5 separate regions of the Homo sapiens genome follow, and all the other regions are linked to region 4. Evidence: promoter capture Hi-C in 16 types of primary human blood cells and fetal thymus (Javierre and others, 2016). All regions are on one chromosome and are shown on one strand. The core of a region is centred on a gene start or on the middle of the fragment in contact, and the rest is flanking DNA. Distances in the headings are between cores, read along the strand shown. Region 1 overlaps LOC105370440 (a long non-coding RNA gene). Region 2 overlaps ARHGAP5 (Rho GTPase activating protein 5). Region 3 overlaps ARHGAP5 (Rho GTPase activating protein 5). Region 4 holds the start of HEATR5A (HEAT repeat containing 5A). Region 5 has its middle 16 kb from the start of RNU6-7.

What was found. Contacts are between HindIII fragments. The CHiCAGO score rates a contact against its expected background, and 5 or more counts as called.
Region 1: a contact is called between a fragment that was not itself captured here and the fragment with the promoter of HEATR5A in region 4, in 1 of 17 cell types (total B cells). The highest score is 5.4, in total B cells.
Region 2: a contact is called between a fragment that was not itself captured here and the fragment with the promoter of HEATR5A in region 4, in 1 of 17 cell types (activated CD4 T cells). The highest score is 5.6, in activated CD4 T cells.
Region 3: a contact is called between a fragment that was not itself captured here and the fragment with the promoter of HEATR5A in region 4, in 1 of 17 cell types (total B cells). The highest score is 5.7, in total B cells.
Region 5: a contact is called between a fragment that was not itself captured here and the fragment with the promoter of HEATR5A in region 4, in 2 of 17 cell types (naive B cells and total B cells). The highest score is 6.2, in naive B cells.

The regions. Positions count from the first base shown.
Region 1 is chr14:32,047,440-32,050,797 of GRCh38, reverse strand. It overlaps LOC105370440 (a long non-coding RNA gene), which reads right to left. Exons shown (of 4, transcript XR_943727.2): 2 at 2,917-2,994; 3 at 516-921. Among named protein-coding and RNA genes, the nearest start is that of ARHGAP5-AS1, 28 kb to the left of the region's middle. The HindIII fragment of the contact is 1,371 bases long and covers 638-2,008 here.
Region 2 is chr14:32,102,558-32,106,102 of GRCh38, reverse strand. All of the region lies in intron 2 of ARHGAP5 (Rho GTPase activating protein 5), which reads right to left. Among named protein-coding and RNA genes, the nearest start is that of ARHGAP5, 27 kb to the right of the region's middle. The HindIII fragment of the contact is 5,331 bases long and covers 1-3,545 here.
Region 3 is chr14:32,083,686-32,087,292 of GRCh38, reverse strand. The region is part of intron 1 of ARHGAP5 (Rho GTPase activating protein 5); the gene reads right to left. Among named protein-coding and RNA genes, the nearest start is that of ARHGAP5, 8.2 kb to the right of the region's middle. The HindIII fragment of the contact is 4,255 bases long and covers 1-3,607 here.
Region 4 is chr14:31,419,277-31,422,707 of GRCh38, reverse strand. HEATR5A (HEAT repeat containing 5A) reads left to right here and starts at 2,158. Exons shown (of 36, transcript NM_015473.4): 1 at 2,158-2,236. HEATR5A-DT (HEATR5A divergent transcript) reads right to left here and starts at 1,950. Exons shown (of 4, transcript NR_110045.1): 1 at 1,731-1,950; 2 at 740-864. RefSeq lists enhancers at 1,838-1,987, 2,418-2,467 and a silencer at 2,578-2,697. The HindIII fragment of the contact is 6,619 bases long and covers 1-2,845 here.
Region 5 is chr14:32,183,928-32,187,387 of GRCh38, reverse strand. No RefSeq gene overlaps it. Among named protein-coding and RNA genes, the nearest start is that of RNU6-7, 16 kb to the left of the region's middle. The HindIII fragment of the contact is 840 bases long and covers 954-1,793 here.

The sequences.
Region 1 (3,358 bases), core at 74-2,573, 630 kb before region 4:
GAGGGTGTAGCCATAGCAGGAATCTCATATGCCTTTGCCCAAAGAAGTATCTTCTTTTATCTGAAAAGGGCATTTTCTTCAGATAATCAGATTGGCTCAATCAAGCCAATAATCATTCCATGATTTGATTTCCCTCTTTCAGTTTGTCCCCTCTTCTTCCTTTCTTTCAATGAGTATCTTTTAACCCTGATGTTTACTTCATCTATTTATTCAGTAAATATTTACTGGGTACCTACTCCAGGACAGACCCAGTTCCAAATGCAGTGAATAAAGCAGCCAAAAACACCTGCCCTCAGGAAGCTGCTATTCTATTGCATTGGTCATGCCACACATCAGATTGTCAGTCAACCTGAGGATGCGTGTCAGGCATTCTTCCAGGACCTAGGATTGGCAACAGGTGAAGAGTGGGGAGGAGAAAAGACCAGGCCTCTAGACAGCCCCCAGTCCCTACCCGTACCCTCCTGCCACACCAGGGTGCCAGAGGGGAAAAAAAATTCTCCTCTTGTCACGCTCACCTTTGTGTGATCCCCTGGGTTGTTACTGCCGCTGGAGTCTCCCAACTCTTGCAGTTGCGGATGTGGCTCTCTTACTTTCCAACAAGCAGATGCCTAATACCAAGCACCTAGGATACAAAGCTTTACCTGAGGAAAAATCTGAAGATTTGAAGGAACTGAGGGCATTTTACGTGAAAATCAGGACTTCTGGCTGCAGGCCCTGTGTAGGCACCTTCTCATTAGGTTAGAGCCCATGCTGCAGTCTAGGAATCCATCCACACACAACCCACCTCTGCTGAGCGAGAAGCCCACGTTGGCAATGCCTGAAGGGCACTATCAGGGAGACTGAATTTGACCTACTTCATACTCAGATTCCATCTCTGTAGGATCTTAATGAGCTTTATTCAACCAAATCTTCTCAGTTCCCCTAAAAATTGAGGAAGGAAACAAGATTCAAAATGATTCATTTAGTATATCCTTTTCTTATGCAGTGTTGATTAAAATCACTGTTTTTAAGCAAGGATATTTCATTATAAGAGCCGGAATGGAAACTGTCTAAAAAATAGGTAAATTAAACTCTTAGAAAACACAAAAATGTTATTTTGGCCAGTGATTCAGCCACATCACTTCAAATCAAATCTTTTACTAAGAGTAATAACATATGAAGAAAATGGATGTTTTGAGTTGCATTTCTTATTTTCTCTTTCCTCCTTCTGGTGGAGGTGACTAATGAACAATGAAATGGCCAAGAGGTAGGCAGGAAGCCACAGAGGTGAGGAGGAGGAGCGAAAGATAGGAATAATCCACAAATAGTTGCTAGGTCTGAAACAATGAGGAATTCAGTGTATTTCCACTTTACAAGGTAAGGGAAGAGGAAAATAATAGTTATGTTAGCTTAGGTAATGACAGTAATTAGTAGTTGCATGCTTTTAATAGGCCAGGCCCAGTGCCTGCACAGTATTTTATTTCTATGATCTCTCAGCAGTTCTGCAAGGGTGGCATTATAGTTATTTCGAAGAAGAAAAATTGAAGACTTAGAGTGTTCAGTAAGTAAGTTGCCCAGGCCCACATAGCAAGGTTAGCCTGGAATGGAACCCAGATTCAATGCCCTTCACTTTCACCATAGGTCTCCTCTGTACCAGTCCTTAGAATCTAGTGCAAAACAGTACAAATTCCCCAAATGGGAAAATGTTAACACCTCAGTTTAAAACATATTAAATAACATTCTAGAGGAATATATAGGATATCATTGGCCTATGGAATGTAAACCTTAGTGTACATAAAAGTTATCTAGAGAACTTGTTTAAATGGCATATTCCTGGGTCCCACCCATGGAGATTGAGATTCAATCTGTCTGGGAACCTAGGAAGAGTCTAGGAATCTACATTTTCAGAAAGCATCCATGTGATTAACAAAGGCGATCCTCAGATCATACTTTGACCTTACCCCAAATTGTGAATTCTCAATTTACCATTCCTTTGCCTCAACCACTTCATTCTAATGTATATGAAGCTTTGTCAATTTGATAGTCTAGTGTAGCTGAAAAAAATACAACACTGGCGTAAAGAAGCCTAGGGTTCTAGGTAAAACTCTGTTGCTAACAAGTTGGGAAAACTCAAATAATTTATTTGAATTTGGTGGGCTTTTTTTCCTCACATGTAAAATTAAGCATTTCATACACCTATGATTTTATTTGGCTGAAGTAAGCCAAATTTTTAAATAACAATCTATAGAGCCTAAACATCTCAATGGTGACATGTAAGAAGCAAAGTCTACTTTATTTATAAATTTGTAATATCAACAAAGTGCTTCCAAATATCATGCATTTGGGAGAAGGAAATGGGAATCCAAAGATGGAAGCAGATATAACTTAAATTATATCATTAAGGCAATTCCGTTGTTTGCTTAGCAATGGATTTCCTCAATCGGGTAGTTGCACCTGTAACTAAGAATGTTTCAAGTATATGGTATTTCCAATCTTAAAAATCAAGTTTTTGTTCATCTTAAGAAACAAAAAACAAAATCCTGCATGAAATAAAAAAAATTTAAAAAGGCAAAAAAAATCAAGTTTTTGCATAATAATTCGTTCTAATTTTCAATAGTATCTTGAAGTTTAAAGCTATTTTGAGCTTGTTTTTAAAAAACTAAAGATACCCCTTGATTTATATTAATATACCACTGGATGTTAAAAGCACAGGTTAAGAATTGCTGATTTATATCTTAGAGAAAAATGCTCACAGTATGGCATATTGGGTGGTTAGTGTTCATGGAGACAAACTTAATGAAATGAGTCACACAAATGAAGTCACAAGTTATAAATGAGAAGGAAGGCCACTGATGCAAAAAATACATAGTTCTAAATCAATGAGGAAAACCACAAAGTGAACTTGTTGTACCGTCAGAAAATTGTATATATATTTACCTCCCTTGAAATATTCCTCTTTGCTCTGTGACTTATTAATACCTTCCCAGAAGCCACTAATTTGCTTCTTCAAACACACTAATTTGGCGGCAGAATTTGGTTGCAGAAAGAGACAATAAAAAAATGTATTATTACATAGGAATTCTGAATCACTAGAAACAAAAGAAAAAATTCACTCAATTGTGAACTAAGTTAAGATGCACTACTTACAGCAATGTTGAGAAAAACATTAATTTCACATTTAGATAGTGTATAATATTTCCTCCAACATTTTGCAGTATAATTTAACAGCTCTTATTTAAAAAGGAACTTCTCAACTCAATCAATGCCAGTTTTATCTCCAAAGCTTTCAATTATACCACATTCCCAAAAGCAATGTATTAAGTAAACTCAATGCATTCATAATCTTACATAGCCTGTATAGCATAGTAGAGTCATTTAG
Region 2 (3,545 bases), core at 196-2,695, 680 kb before region 4:
AAACAGTTTGGCAGTTTCTTATCCTGTATTCGAATGTTCATGACAACTTTATTCAAGATGGACAAAAACTGGAACGACCTGATGTCCTTCAACAGGTTAAAACACTGATGTATCCATATTATGGAATATTATTCAGCAATAAAAAGAACAAACTGTTGATGCACGCAACAACTTGGCTGAATCTCAAGGGCATTATGGTAAATGAAAGTCAATCCCAGAAAGTTATATGCCCTGTGATTCCATTTATATAACATCCTTGAAATGACAAAATTATAGAAATGAAAAACAGAGTAGTGGCTATCAGTGGTTAGGGATGGGTGAGGAGAAGGAAAAGCATGTAGTTATAAAAAGACAAAACAAGTTAATTTGCTAGTGGATGGAACTGTTTTACATCTTGACTATGGGAGGGACACACAAACCTATACACATGAAAAACTGCAAAGAACAAAATATACACATGTACAAATTAGTACAAGTAAAACTGGGGAAATCTGAATAAGATCTGTAGATCATATTAATGTCAACACCCTGGCTGTGATATTGTACTATAGTTTTGCAGGATATTACCATTGTGGGAAAATGGGCAAAGAGCACATGGGGTCTCTCTTTTTTTTAAAAAAAAAAACAATAGCATATGAATCAACAATTAGCTCAAAATAGAATCTTTATTTCTTTAAAAAAGGTATTTGTGATAATGCAGGTAAGAAATAATGACAACCTCAACTAGTATGAAAATGGAACGGAAGCAACACATTTTATAGCAGAATAATGAATGATAAACAGTCGAGTATGATAAATGACAATAGCATGTAGCTCTGGCCCACAGTTAACATAATCCTGAAAATATATTCTTACCCAATCACGGTGAGGCTGGGGAAGAAAACGCTATGACCTATATGGAAAACCCTACCTTTCTTATTGAACAGATACAAACATGCCTTGTATGACTGACTTCTAGAACTGCATAGACATTTTTTTCAAGACATAGTCTCCTACACCAGGGTTTCTCAACTTCAAGATTATTGGCACTTTGGGCTGTATAATCCTTTGTTGTGGAAGATGGCCTGTGAATTCTGCAATTCAGTTTAGCAATTCAATGTTTAGCAGTAACCCTGGCTTCTACCCACTAGATGCCAGCAGCAACCTCCTACTTCCAGTTGTGACACCCAAAAATGTCTCTAGACATTGCCATATGCTTCCTGGAGGGCCAAACTGACCCTGGTTGATAGCCACTGTGCTAGACTAGTAAAAACAAAGACCAATAACTCAAGTTTGGGAAATAGCTACAGATATATTTCTGAAAAGCCTGAGAATTTTAACTTTAAAAAAGGTCCATACACGACTCAAGACTGAGAAACAATACTGCAGGTTATACAAAGTTGAATGATAACCATAACTGCCCTCAGAAAGGTTATAACATAGAAAAACAAAATTAAACTACAATATAAAGTGATCAGGCAGTGAGAAGCAGCATTACATTATAGTTTAACACACTGGTGTAAGAAAGAAGCCTTCAGGGGACCCAGCACTCTAAAGGTTTATTTAATCCCTTTTTTAAGCCTATAAAAGCCGTAAGTGCTGGCTGAAAGTCCAAACACACTTCAGAAAACTTACATTGTGAAGACTCTCTCACACCCTTTATGCTAACACTAGGTGAAAAGAGGAAATAAAAAACAACAGAGTAAATAAATGTGGTCTAGGTTTTTGTACATACTTATCAGGCAAACTAATTTTAACCTTGACTCAGGAACCTTTATTCTCTAAGATAACATCTTCCTAAAAAGCATTTCAACATATATTATATATGTGGCAGATATTTTATTAATGCCATTAACAACTTAACAAAAAATAAACCTGGAGTCACTTGGAGAAAGTTCTAGCAAAGCAACTAACTATTCAAGTGAATGGGTGGATTTCTACCCAGCTTCCCCAAATTTCAGTGTCTTCCTCCTCCCTCTCATCTTATACAAGGAGTTTCTTAAACTGGGATCCACAGGCCTTTAGAAAGTATTTGAAACCGTTAAAACTCCAGTAAAATTTTGTGCATGTGCATTTTTCTAGGGAAAATACCCAAACCTTGACTCAGATTTTCAAAGGCTAAGAACAATTTCCAAAAAGTTCAAAACAATTGTTATACAATGTATGCAAGTTGTACCCTTTATTTTGACTACGATACAATCATAAGATCTCTTTTGTCATATCCTTATATTTTGTTGTAAGGATTCTAAACATCAAAAATTACTACTATTTTTAAAAAGCAACCCTCCTATGCTCTGGGGTTTCTCTTCTTTAAAAGTCACAGATTAAGCCCTATTTACTTGAGTACTCCATCCACACTTTAGCTGAGATGACAGGAAAACATTACAGAGCAAGAAATCATAACACTGCATCTACTGTAAAAAACCTCTCCTAGGATTGACACAATTTGTAGTATACAAAATTTTGGTGTACATAAATTGGCAAACCTATAAATTTACCTATAGTCTTGCAATAGTAACAACTGTCCATTAACATAAGAACACAATTATCTATGTTACAGAAGTGCCTCCTTGACACATACTTAACATTTACTATTAATCTGCTGCAGAAATGAGTAACTTCAATAATCTGTACTATGCTTTTACAAAATATTCAGTACGCTGCTATAAACACTAAGAAAAAGTTTGTATAGAAAGCCAAATTTAAATTAGCGAAAATGTATGCCACTGACATAATCTTTCCAATTAAGTCTTAACAAAATATATAAATCAGAAATATACTTTAAAAATTAACCATCTAATTACATTTCAATCTGAATTTGAAAAGCAATAAATCATGATCAAATGGACAACACAGAATTCAAAGAAATGGCAAATAGTAAAATACTGCCAGAAATACTTGCACTACATATCCACACTTATGTTATCATAAATTGGTGTAGCCAGCACCAAAAATGCTGAAGAAACAAATTTTAACTTTATGAGAAATTATAGAAACATCACAGATCTAGTTAACCAGGTAGATCAATTTAGCCAGTTACCCAGGAAGAAAGCAATAGAAATGGTACTGAAGAAAGCCTAAGTAAATTCTTTCCAGATGAGATGAAATATGAGAAAGAACCAGAAGTCTGGCTAAACTTGTTGAAAATATAAAACATATTTAATTTTCAGCAAAATCAATTTTATTAGACTGAATTTCTTGAAAGCAGAGCCAATGAATGACCAAGTCATCCCCATATTAGTTTCTAACAGTGTTCAGGCACAGTAGGCATTTACCAAAATGCTTGTTGAATAAAATGAGTTTTCCTGAGTCAAAATAAATTGTAGTTAAACACATGAACAGTTCTTTTACAAAAACAAAGGCCATACATTTATGCTGACTTCAACTGATCACACTATGACACAGAGTACTGTGCTAGGCCATGGAGATCAACTATAAACAAGATACAAATCTTGCCTGCAGTAGACATTGTGGTTTTCCTATCTTAGAAATTATCTTAATTTCACAGAAAGCCAATTTCACTCAGAGCTCTCAGGATAAAGACTAAAACCTAAACTCATTTTTCT
Region 3 (3,607 bases), core at 257-2,756, 670 kb before region 4:
ATATATATACAAATTATCCATTGGCCCCTTACAACCAGATCAAAACTGTCCTCTATTAGCCAAGCAATTTTTTTTTTCAGTGCTAAGAACAAAAAAAATTTATTGTTTTTTTTCATGCTCCCACTAATAAACTAATGCCCAGTGTCTTCAATGATATGAAGGCTGTTTGAGTTAACTTAAAAATTCCTTTCAGTCTTAATATCTATGTCAATCATGCACATCTATTTTTGATGTAGGCTTACTTTCATGCAACTTGTTCTTATGATATCTAGCACCATGTTTATTTTTACTGATGAAGAAACCAAGACAAAAGTAGCAATAACCTACTAGAAATTATAAGGTTAGAAGGAAAATCTCTTCATTCCCAATCTTTTACTTTTTTAAGCAATAGTGCTGCTTTTAATAGCTTGCAATGCAGTCTCTCATTCTGCCTTTAAGATTGTCTTTAGGATAATCTTATAGAAATTATCTATATCCTTATAGAAATTAAAATTGTGTCAAAACAAAACTATGTTCACAACTAAGTTTTCTAAGGTATTTTACTAGACCATTCAAACACTGCATCCTCCTTTGCAAATCAAGAAAAAAAAAGTTCTACAAGGAATCTAAAAAAATAAAATCTCAATAAATCAGAACTAAAACATGTACCTTTTCACAAAATTGATGCATTCATTAATAAAAGGTATATATTTAAAAATATTTTATGCTTTTAAATTATACCATGTCAGGAAATTCCTAATGGTCCTATCTTTAAAATATATCCTTAACTTTTCAGTTTTTTCTACTTTTACTGCTCTCACCCATCAATATCTCTGGCCCAAGATTACTCCAAAGTCTTCTAAACTAACTCCTCTGCTTCACTTCTGCTCCCTTTTCCCAGTCTATTCATATCAGAGCAGCCAGAGTGCTCCTTTTAAAACATAAATCAGAGCTTCCCATTCTTTTGTTTAAAACTCTCGAGTACTGCTAAAAATAAAAAGCAAGTCCTGTCAATGGCTTACAAGATCTTCTCCAACCCTCTCTCACCTCTCTGGCCTCCCCTAATACTATTCTACCTTTCTCATTCTGCTTCAATCACACTGGAGGAAGACAACATGCTAAGGCATGTTCTTTGCACTTAACTTTTCACAATATCCCCAAAGATCCCCACTGCTAACTCTTTACCTTCCTAACTTACTATACACCTTATTTATGTCATTAACTCTATCCCTCTCCGCATCCCACTCTTAATAAAAGAGTCACAAGGCACAAATCTTTATTTCACCAGTATATCAAAAGCCTACAACAGTGCCTCCCACATAACAGCTACTAATTAAATGCATAAATCCTAATTTAAACTCAAATATTTAGTCAAAAATGAAACCATGAGAATGAAAGCTAACTACAATCTATAATAATGTACTTAGCCAGCATAACAATCTAATTTTATGACATCTTAAAAAAATTTTTTTTCAAAAGTGAAGTTGAGTACAACCCCAAATATAGTTAATTCAAAATTTTTGGCTGTTTAAAGACTTTAGTAAAATCACAAAATTTATGATAAGAAATTATATTTCCAAGACCTAATCACACAGAGGGAACTTTGTAATTACATGCTCTATCTTCTTTAAATCAAATAACTATCCCTTATGTAAACAAATATTCAAAAGAAACAAGAACAAAGCCCAAAGATTATCATATATTCTACAATCTTAGGCAAACTTTTTGCAAGCAGCTGAAGAATAAAAAAACAACTGCACACTAAAAGATGAATAATTTGTTCAGCAGCAATAGAAAACAACAACAAAAAGATGAACAGAGTGTAGTACTGATGCATTACTTTACTGTTTTTTGTTTGTTTTTGAGATAGGTCTCCTAATCTGTCATCTAGGCTGGAATGCAGTGGCATGATCATAGCTCACTGCAGCCTCGAACTCCTGCGCTCAGGTGATCCTCTCATCTCAGCCTCCTGTCTAGCTGGGACTCTAGGCATGCACCACCACACCCAGCTAATATTTAAAAATTATTTTTGTAGAGAGGGGTTCTCCTTATGCTCCCCAGGCTGGTCTCAAACTCCTGGGCTCAAGCAATCCTCTTCCATCAGCCTCCCAAGGTATGGGTATTACAGACGTGAGCCACCTCCCAGCCTGCCTTTTCTTAATGTTGCTATTTCTGGTAAATTTATCAATGCTGTGAAAAGTGAGAAGAAATCAAAAAGTCATTCTAACACACATAAAATAGCTAAGTAATTCAACAATGTAATACCTGTAGGAGAGTAACTCATATCCCATAATCTGTCTTTTTTTTTAAATAGGGTGTCACTGTCACCCATTCTAGAGTACAGTGGCAGGATCATAGCTTACTGCAGCCTCAAACACCTGGGCTCAAATGATCCTCCTTCCTCAGCCTTCTAAGCAGCTGCGACTACAGATGTGCACCACCACACATAGGTGATTTTTAAATTTTTTTGTAGAGAGTCTCACTATGTTGTGGTCTCAAAGTCCTGGACTCGAAATAATACTTCATCTTTGAACCACAGTTTATACCAGAAAGCACACAATTTGTATGTGAAATGAGCCCTAAAAAGTCATTATTCCTATGAATTAGTCTTGAAACAAGAATATAATCAGGCAAATGAAGAGAGAACCAACCTATTAAAAATTTGAACAATTTACGTGGTGACTAAATAACGTAGAAGCATTGGGATTTTGTTTTGGAATCAAATCTCCAGCAACAGTGCCTGATACACAGTGAGGGCTCAGTAAATATTTCATGAATAAATGACTCAATCTCCAGACTAAGAATAATCAGCTTCCAAACCGCTGGGTAATCCTGAAGTCACACTTGTAAACACAATTAACAAAAATTATGTACTGCTTTGGGCCCATTACATCTAGTACAGCAAAATATACTAACATAAAAAGTCCAGTTTTTTTCCCCAGGACTATAATGTGATCATTAACACACAATAGGGGTATATAAACAGTAAGTCTAAAGGTGTGTAGTACTTCAAGGAGGGTCCAAGTAGGCAGTACTCTGGGAGCTCCGCAAACCCACGCAGCAAAGGTAATTCTGCTTTTAACCATTTTTATCTTCTGATATTTCAATTTGTTTGAAAAAAACTTCACTGCTGAAAATATGTGAAAAACCAATGACCAAAACTATTCCCAAACACATTAACTTCTACCCTATTATTTAATGTACACCCTACTCTGATAACATGTTATTTCCCTGAGGCCTTGGTGTGCAAGTCATTCTAAATTCTTTCATTTCTGTATGGGAAACAGAAGGATCAAAGGTCATCCCATGTTCATCAACCTAGGTAAACAACTATAAGTATTTATTTACTGTGCTTAGCTACTATCAGTTTAACTTTGTCAGAGATTTTCAATGTATAAAGGTACATATAGGAAAGTCTACCAAGCCAGTAACTATGGCTTGGTAGTTCACCTTCCTTCCAGTGTCTGAGTCCTTTTCTCTCCACCTTGGAGAACCAAGAAGTGGGGAGAAGGGCATAATTTGATATGCAATATTACAATGCCATATAGTAGAGGAACCGTCATTTTCATCATACAAACAACTTTAGATACGGCTTAACAATTTTTAAAATGAGAGCACCTGATTGAAT
Region 4 (3,431 bases), core at 909-3,408:
CCAGGTATGGTGGCACACGCCTGTAATCCCAGCTACTCAGGAGCTGAGGCCAGTGAATTGCTTGAACCCGGGAGGCGGAGGCTGCAGTGAGCCAAGATCACACCACTGCACTCCAGCCTGGGTGACAGAGCGAGACTCCGTCTCAAAAAAAAAAAAAAAAAAGAGAGAGAGAATTTAAGGCTGGGTACAGTGGGTCACACCTGTAATCCCAGCACTTTGGGAGGCTGAGGCGGGTGGATCGCTTGGGCCCAGGAGTTCGAGACCAGCCTGGGCAAAATGGTGAAACCCTGTCTCTACAAAAACAAAAACAAACAAACAAAATTAGCCAGGCACAGTGGCACACCCATTGTCCCTGCTACTTGAGTGGCTGAGGTGGGAGAATCACCTGAGCCTAGGAGGTTGAGCCTGCAGTGAGCTGTGATCAGACTACTGCACTCCAGCCTGGGTGACAGAGTGAGACCTTGTCTTCTTGTCTCAAAAAAAAAAAAATTACACACACACACACACACACACAACACAGAAGCTAGAATGAATATGAGACCTTGTCTTCTTGTCTTAAAAAAAAATTGAACACACACACACACACACACACACACACACACACACATATCACAGAAGATAGAATGAATGGGGCCCCTACCCACCAAACTTGGGATAATTGAGCATCAAAATAAATAATGATAGAGACAGAATATTGGCTGGTGTGGTGGTGTGCATGCCTGCAGTCTCAGCTACTTACCTGGGAGGCTGAGGCAGAAGGATCACATGAGCCCAGAAGTTCAAGGCTGTAGTGTGCACCATGATTGCATTATCGACCTGTGAATAGCCACTGCACTCCGGCCTGGGCAACAAAGGAGGCCCTGTCTCAAGAAAAAAAAAAAAAAAAAGAGAGAGAGAAAAGAGAGAAAGAAACGGATTATAAGTCATTTAACAAAATAGAAACCTCTGGATCCATACTAATTAATATAAATACATTAACTGAAGATTTGATGAGAAACAAGATATTTACAAATATCTTGAAAGGAGAGTTTCAGAGTCTCCCTCACAAAATACTTATTAATTTACAAAGGGGGGAAAAAAGTAACCACACTGGACAAGCCTAACAGACATCACCTTATTAAAGTAAACATCTGTAATGAGAGAAGTTAAAATCGTGCCACCTGATAGGGTGCCATGAGAAGAAAGCAGCAACACTTCTAGAGTCCTGTCATACCTAGCTAAATGTAATCATGAGTAAATATCAGACAGACCCAAAATGAAGGCCATTCTACAAAAATAACTGGCCAGGAATCTTTAACAGCGTCAAGAATATGAAAGGCAAGGCAAGACTGAGAGTTCCAGTTTGAAGAGTAGGAAAGATACATGATAAGTAAATACAATGCCTGATTCTGAACGGAATCTTTTACCATAAACAATATTATTGGGACAATTGGTAAAACGCCGAGTTATGTAAATGTTTTGATTTTGATGGTTATATTGTGATTATGTAGAAGGTGCTTAGGGACAATGTGGCATGGTGTCAGCAATTTAAATCTCAATTCAGGGAAAAAAAGTTCTTTGTACTATACTTGCAACCTTTTTGTAAGCTGGAGATAGATTCAAAATGAAACTTGAAAAATGACATTTAAAACGCTGAGTGTAGTGGGAAAACGCACATGACTCAAGGTAAGAGGCTATTAGTCTCAGTTCTGCCATTGACTTAGTATGTGACCTTGAGCAAGTCACTTTACCTCAGTCCTCACAGTCAAGGCTCTCTAGGGTCCCTTCCACGTCTAACATCTACCCCCACAGCACTGGCCCCGCCTGAATTTCTCCAGGCCCTTTAGGTGTCCCAGAGCTGCACCCAAAGACTCTGGCTTACGATAAAAACAGACAAAAATAGTTGTGGCCGGAATCTCCGGACTGAAAAACCGCTGTCCTAATCCTAACTTGGGCCGCAGTCTCCATCGCTCTTTCGACGGTGAAGCAGTCACGCCTGCCAGAGTGGGCGCTCGATGGCTCGGCGGCCAGCTGGCGGGGCCTTGGACCAGCGGCCCGGCGCAGGGCGCGCTCCCAATCGCTAGCTCCCGCGGTGCTCGCCGCTGAGAGCTTTCCGGCCACGCCCCACGCGCGCCCCGCCCACCTCAATGCCTCGCTGTCGCCGCCGCCGGCAATTCCAGACTCTGCTAGGGTTAGCAGAGCAGCCGGTAACGTTGCTGGACCGGGACGCACGCTCAGCTGAGGAGGACCCCCAAAGGCAGGCAGTCGGGGATCCAGGGAGCGGGGACACCTCCGGGCGCGAGGGGGCTGTGTCTGGGCTGCCTGTTGGCTGGGAAGGAGAACGCACCAGGGCCGCTGTATGAGTTGAGCGCTCGGGGATCCCGAGGGTGGTCGCGGCAGCAATGTGATCGCGAAAGAAGCCGGTGGGAGAACCGGTCGAGGGGCTAGGTGTCTTGACCCTAAGGGCTGGAGTCCGCCGAGAAGGGGCTGACTGGGGCACAGGGTCGGCTGATAAACAGCGTGGTCCGTTCTTCCTCCTGGACTACGGGAAAGTCTGGCTTCACCTGTGCACAACAGGTAGGCGTGGACTCTGCCCGCCAGCGGGAGCCGGGGTTGCCGGGCGTGTGGGGAAGGTCAGCAAGTCGGAGCCCGCCTCGCCAACTCGCCGCTCCCGGGACCCGCCCTGCGGCGTCCGCTGCGCCAGTGGTCAGCCAGGAGCCGGGCCCCGGCCCGGCCTTCGGGCGAGCTTCCTCAGAGGCCCGTTCGTTTTCTGCAGGAACCCTCAAAGAGAGTTCCCAGAAGGGAGCAGTGGAGAGTGTGGATATTTGCTTTCTAACTGTTGCAGTTCTCTCCAGGAAAGAAAGCTTTTCCTTTGGTGGCATTTGCTTAGTGTGAGGAAACATTTTCTTTCACCCTACTCTCGGCCAACGCGGCGTTATTTCAAGTGATTATAAAGTCTTTAGAAACTTTATAAAGCGTTTTATAGTGTTTATTTATCACAGTAATGGATACCTCTGGCAAGTTGGGATAATTTTCTTGACTGTCAAGTCAGATAATAATAAAATGGCTTGAGCTCCTACATTAAAGGTCATAGTTATCCATTGTTTTTATGTGCATTCATTTATTGAACAAATATGCAGCACTTTTTTGGGGCTAGGCGCCCTTAAGGAATTTACAGCCTGAAAGATATTAGAAGTTTAAGGAGGAAAAAAAGGGGCCCACAAGTACACTTAAGAACTTCCAGAGAAAATACTCCCAGTGAAATTACTTAAGCTGTAGGGAAAGCAGAAGTGTGGTTAGAATTGAGCATTAGTTGGATGGGGAGAGGAGAATTTTGTTTAATTTTCCAAACATTTTAGAAAGTATGTCTTTGAGAAAGTAATTTTAGATAAAGTATCGAAGCCGAGATTTGTGTTACATTTTAATGCCATTGACTTTTTTTTTTTCTTCAC
Region 5 (3,460 bases), core at 124-2,623, 770 kb before region 4:
TACGGGCATGCTCCACCACACCCAGCCAATTTTTGTATTTTTAGTAGAGACGAGGTTTCACCATATAGGCCAGGCTGGTCTCGAACTCCTGAGCTCAAGTAATACACTCGCCTTGGCCTCCAAAAGTGCTGGGATTATAGGGGTGAGCCACCGCATCCAGCCAATATTTTTTCTTATCTAAACATTATTCCTGGCTGGGCACTTTGGCTCACACCTGTAATCCAGCACTATAGGAGGTCAAGGAAGGTTGATTGCTTGAGGTCAGGAAACCAGCCTGGCCATCACGGTGAAACCCTGTCTCTAGTAATGATACAAAAAATTAGCCAGGCCTGGTGCACATGCCTGTAGTCAGCTACTCAGGAGGTTGAACCTGCGGAGCTTGCAGTGAACAGAGATCGCACTGCTGCACTCCAGCCTGGGCAACAGAACGAGACTCCCTCAAAAAAAAAAAAAAAAAAAAAAAAAAAAAAAAGGCCAGGCACGGTGATTCATGCCTGTAATCCCAGCACTTTGGGATGCAGAGGCAGGAGGATCACCTGAGGTCAGGAGTTTTAGACCAGCCTGGCCAACATGGTGAAACCTCACCTCTATAAAATTAAAAGAAAAATTGTATTGTTGCATTCTAATGCCATAAAGATAATCCTCTATGTTTTCTTCTAAAACATTTGTGAAGTGATAACAAGCACTTATCTAACTACCTAGGTCAAGATGAATAGAGGACAGTTACTAACTTCAACTCCTACCTGTGCCACCAGAGCATGGAGTAATTCTAGCCAGCAAAGGAGACCATATTGGAAGAGTGAGAAAACAAGATAATAACTAAAAAAATATATATTGATGACCTTGACTGGGGGAGTGGGTGGAAGTACAAGCTGCAGGTGCAAATCATAGAGGTGAGATGTTAAGTTAATGGGAGACAGGAAGTGAAAATGAAATCATTCTTTCAATAAGCTTGGCCATAAAGGAAATGAAAGCTGCAGAAGCAGATATAAAGTAAAAGAGCCTTTTTTTGTTTTTTTCATTACAGAAACTTGGACATGTTTATATGTTGATGGCAAAGAGTAGAGCACAGAGTGAAGATTCAGGGATGAGGGGAGATCATTGATGGAGGCAGGTTCCTGAGGAGGCCAAGGAGGTGGGATGGAGACTGTATGGCAGGGGAAATCTACTCTTTCTCTTGCTGTAGTTACACCTCCCTGGGCTACCTCTCCCTCTTTCCTTTGCCTGTCAAAAAGCTATACATTATTTATTAAGACTATCTGGTATTGGCACAAAAGATGGACAAATAGATTAATAGAACCAAAAGGGCACCTGATTTATGACAAGGTAGCACTGAAGGGCAATGGGGAAAGGGCAATCGCTTCAGTAAACAATATTGGCAGCCAGACGTGGTGGCTCATGCCTGTAATCCCAGCACTATGGGAGGCCAAGTTGGACGGATCGCCTGAGGTCAGGAGTTCAAGACCAGCCCGGCCAACATGGTGAAACCCCGTTTCTACTAAAAATACAAAAACCACTGTAATCCTAGCTACTCAGGAGGCTGAGGCAGGAGAATCACTTGAACCCGGGAGGCAGAGGTTGCAGTGAGCCAAGATTGGGCCACTGCACTGCAGCCTGCATGACAGAGCAAGACTCCATCTCCAAACAAACAAACAAACAAACAAACAAACAATAAACAATATTGACTCAACTGTATCTGTTTGCAGAAATCTTAATTTCTACCTCATGCCATACCTGAAAATTATTTCCAGATAGAATGTGTATCTAAATATAAAAGGTAAGATAATAAAGCTTCTAGAGAATAATAACATAAGAAAGTATGTTACTGACTTTGAAGTAGAGAAGGTTTTCTTAGACTGGAAGCAAAAAGTATTAACTATTGATAAGGAAAAGATTAGCTACGCTAAAATTGGGGATTTATGTTCATCCCAAAAACATCACCATTAAGAAAATGAAAAGGTAAACTCATGAGTAGAAGATATTTGCAATACATATAACCAACAAAGGGCTCATATATAAAGAATTCCAGCAAATCAATAAGAAAAAGACAACTGAAAAATGGGCAAAACACCTGAACAGGCACTTTACAGAAGAAGATATCCAAATGGCCAATACACATATGAAAAAGTCTCATTGTTATTGGTCATCAGTGAAATGCATATTAAAACTATCTTAAAAGGCTGGCACCCAGGGTTGGCAGAGATGTGGAGTATTCTAATTTTCATACAATTCCAGTGAGAGTATAAATTGATGCAACCATTTTGAAAACTATTTGTCAGTATCTGTTAAAGCTGAACGTACACATACTCTGTGATCCAGCAACCCACGTGTGTATCTACACATGATTATGCATAGAAGCATTGTTCCTAAAAACCCAAATATCTTGTCTTCAACAAGAGAATAAATTAATTAAGAAATATGTATTCAGAGCCACAACAACATAGATGAATCACACAAACATAACGTTGAGTGAAAGAAGCCAAACACAAAAGAGTCTACTCTGCCTCATTTTTATGAAGTTCCAAAACTAGTCTACTGTGCAAAACTAGGCAAAACTAGTCTACTGTGTTGGAAAACAGAATAGCCATTATCTTTTAATAAGGAGTGTAGAAAATGACTAGGCATATGGTGGGCTTCTGGAATTGTGATATTCAATCTATTTAACTGTGTGGTAGTTATACTGGTGTGTTTATTCTTCAATAATTCATCAAGCTATATACTTCTAATTTGTGCACTTTTCTACATATGTGTTAAACTTTGATTAAAATGTTCATTGTGAAAAATTAAAGCTATTATTCTGTCATAAACAGTGTCATCCACATAAACATTTTGTACTTTTCTACTTACCTTACGTACATATCTAGTCATTTCTCTATTAATCTTGTTCTTCTAATTGGAAGTATGAGATTAGAGGCTGACTGCTACTTGTCTTTTGGTTTTCTGAGGGTCTTTGCACACAGCAGGTGTTTAATAAATGTTTACTGAATTGAAACTTTAAATGATATATTAGAACTCTCTCTGGGAAGTTTTCGGCAAACATGTCATCAAACAATTACTACTGATTCACCCTTCTTCACCAACTGATCCTCTCCTTTATAATGTCCTAACATGAGACAAACATCCACAAACACTAAACAATCTATTACTGTTGCTTTGGAACATAACTATTTTGAAAAAGTTTCTCTAAGTGTTGCAAATTTTTTTCTGGGTCCTGGACTGGTGGGTATATGATCTATGGGTATAATTTGTCCATATACAGAAGTCAGGGACAGCAGCAAAATAATTTTTAATTGTCAGAATATTAAATATGTATCTAAATGCTCTACTGAGAAGCCAAGCTGTCTGTTCACTAGAATAAATATCTTTTATTCTTCATTTAAAAAGATGCTCTTATCCACACTGCACCACAAGGCCATCTGCTCTAAGCTATTTCTTCTAGTAAGAGTGAAAATGTGATGGA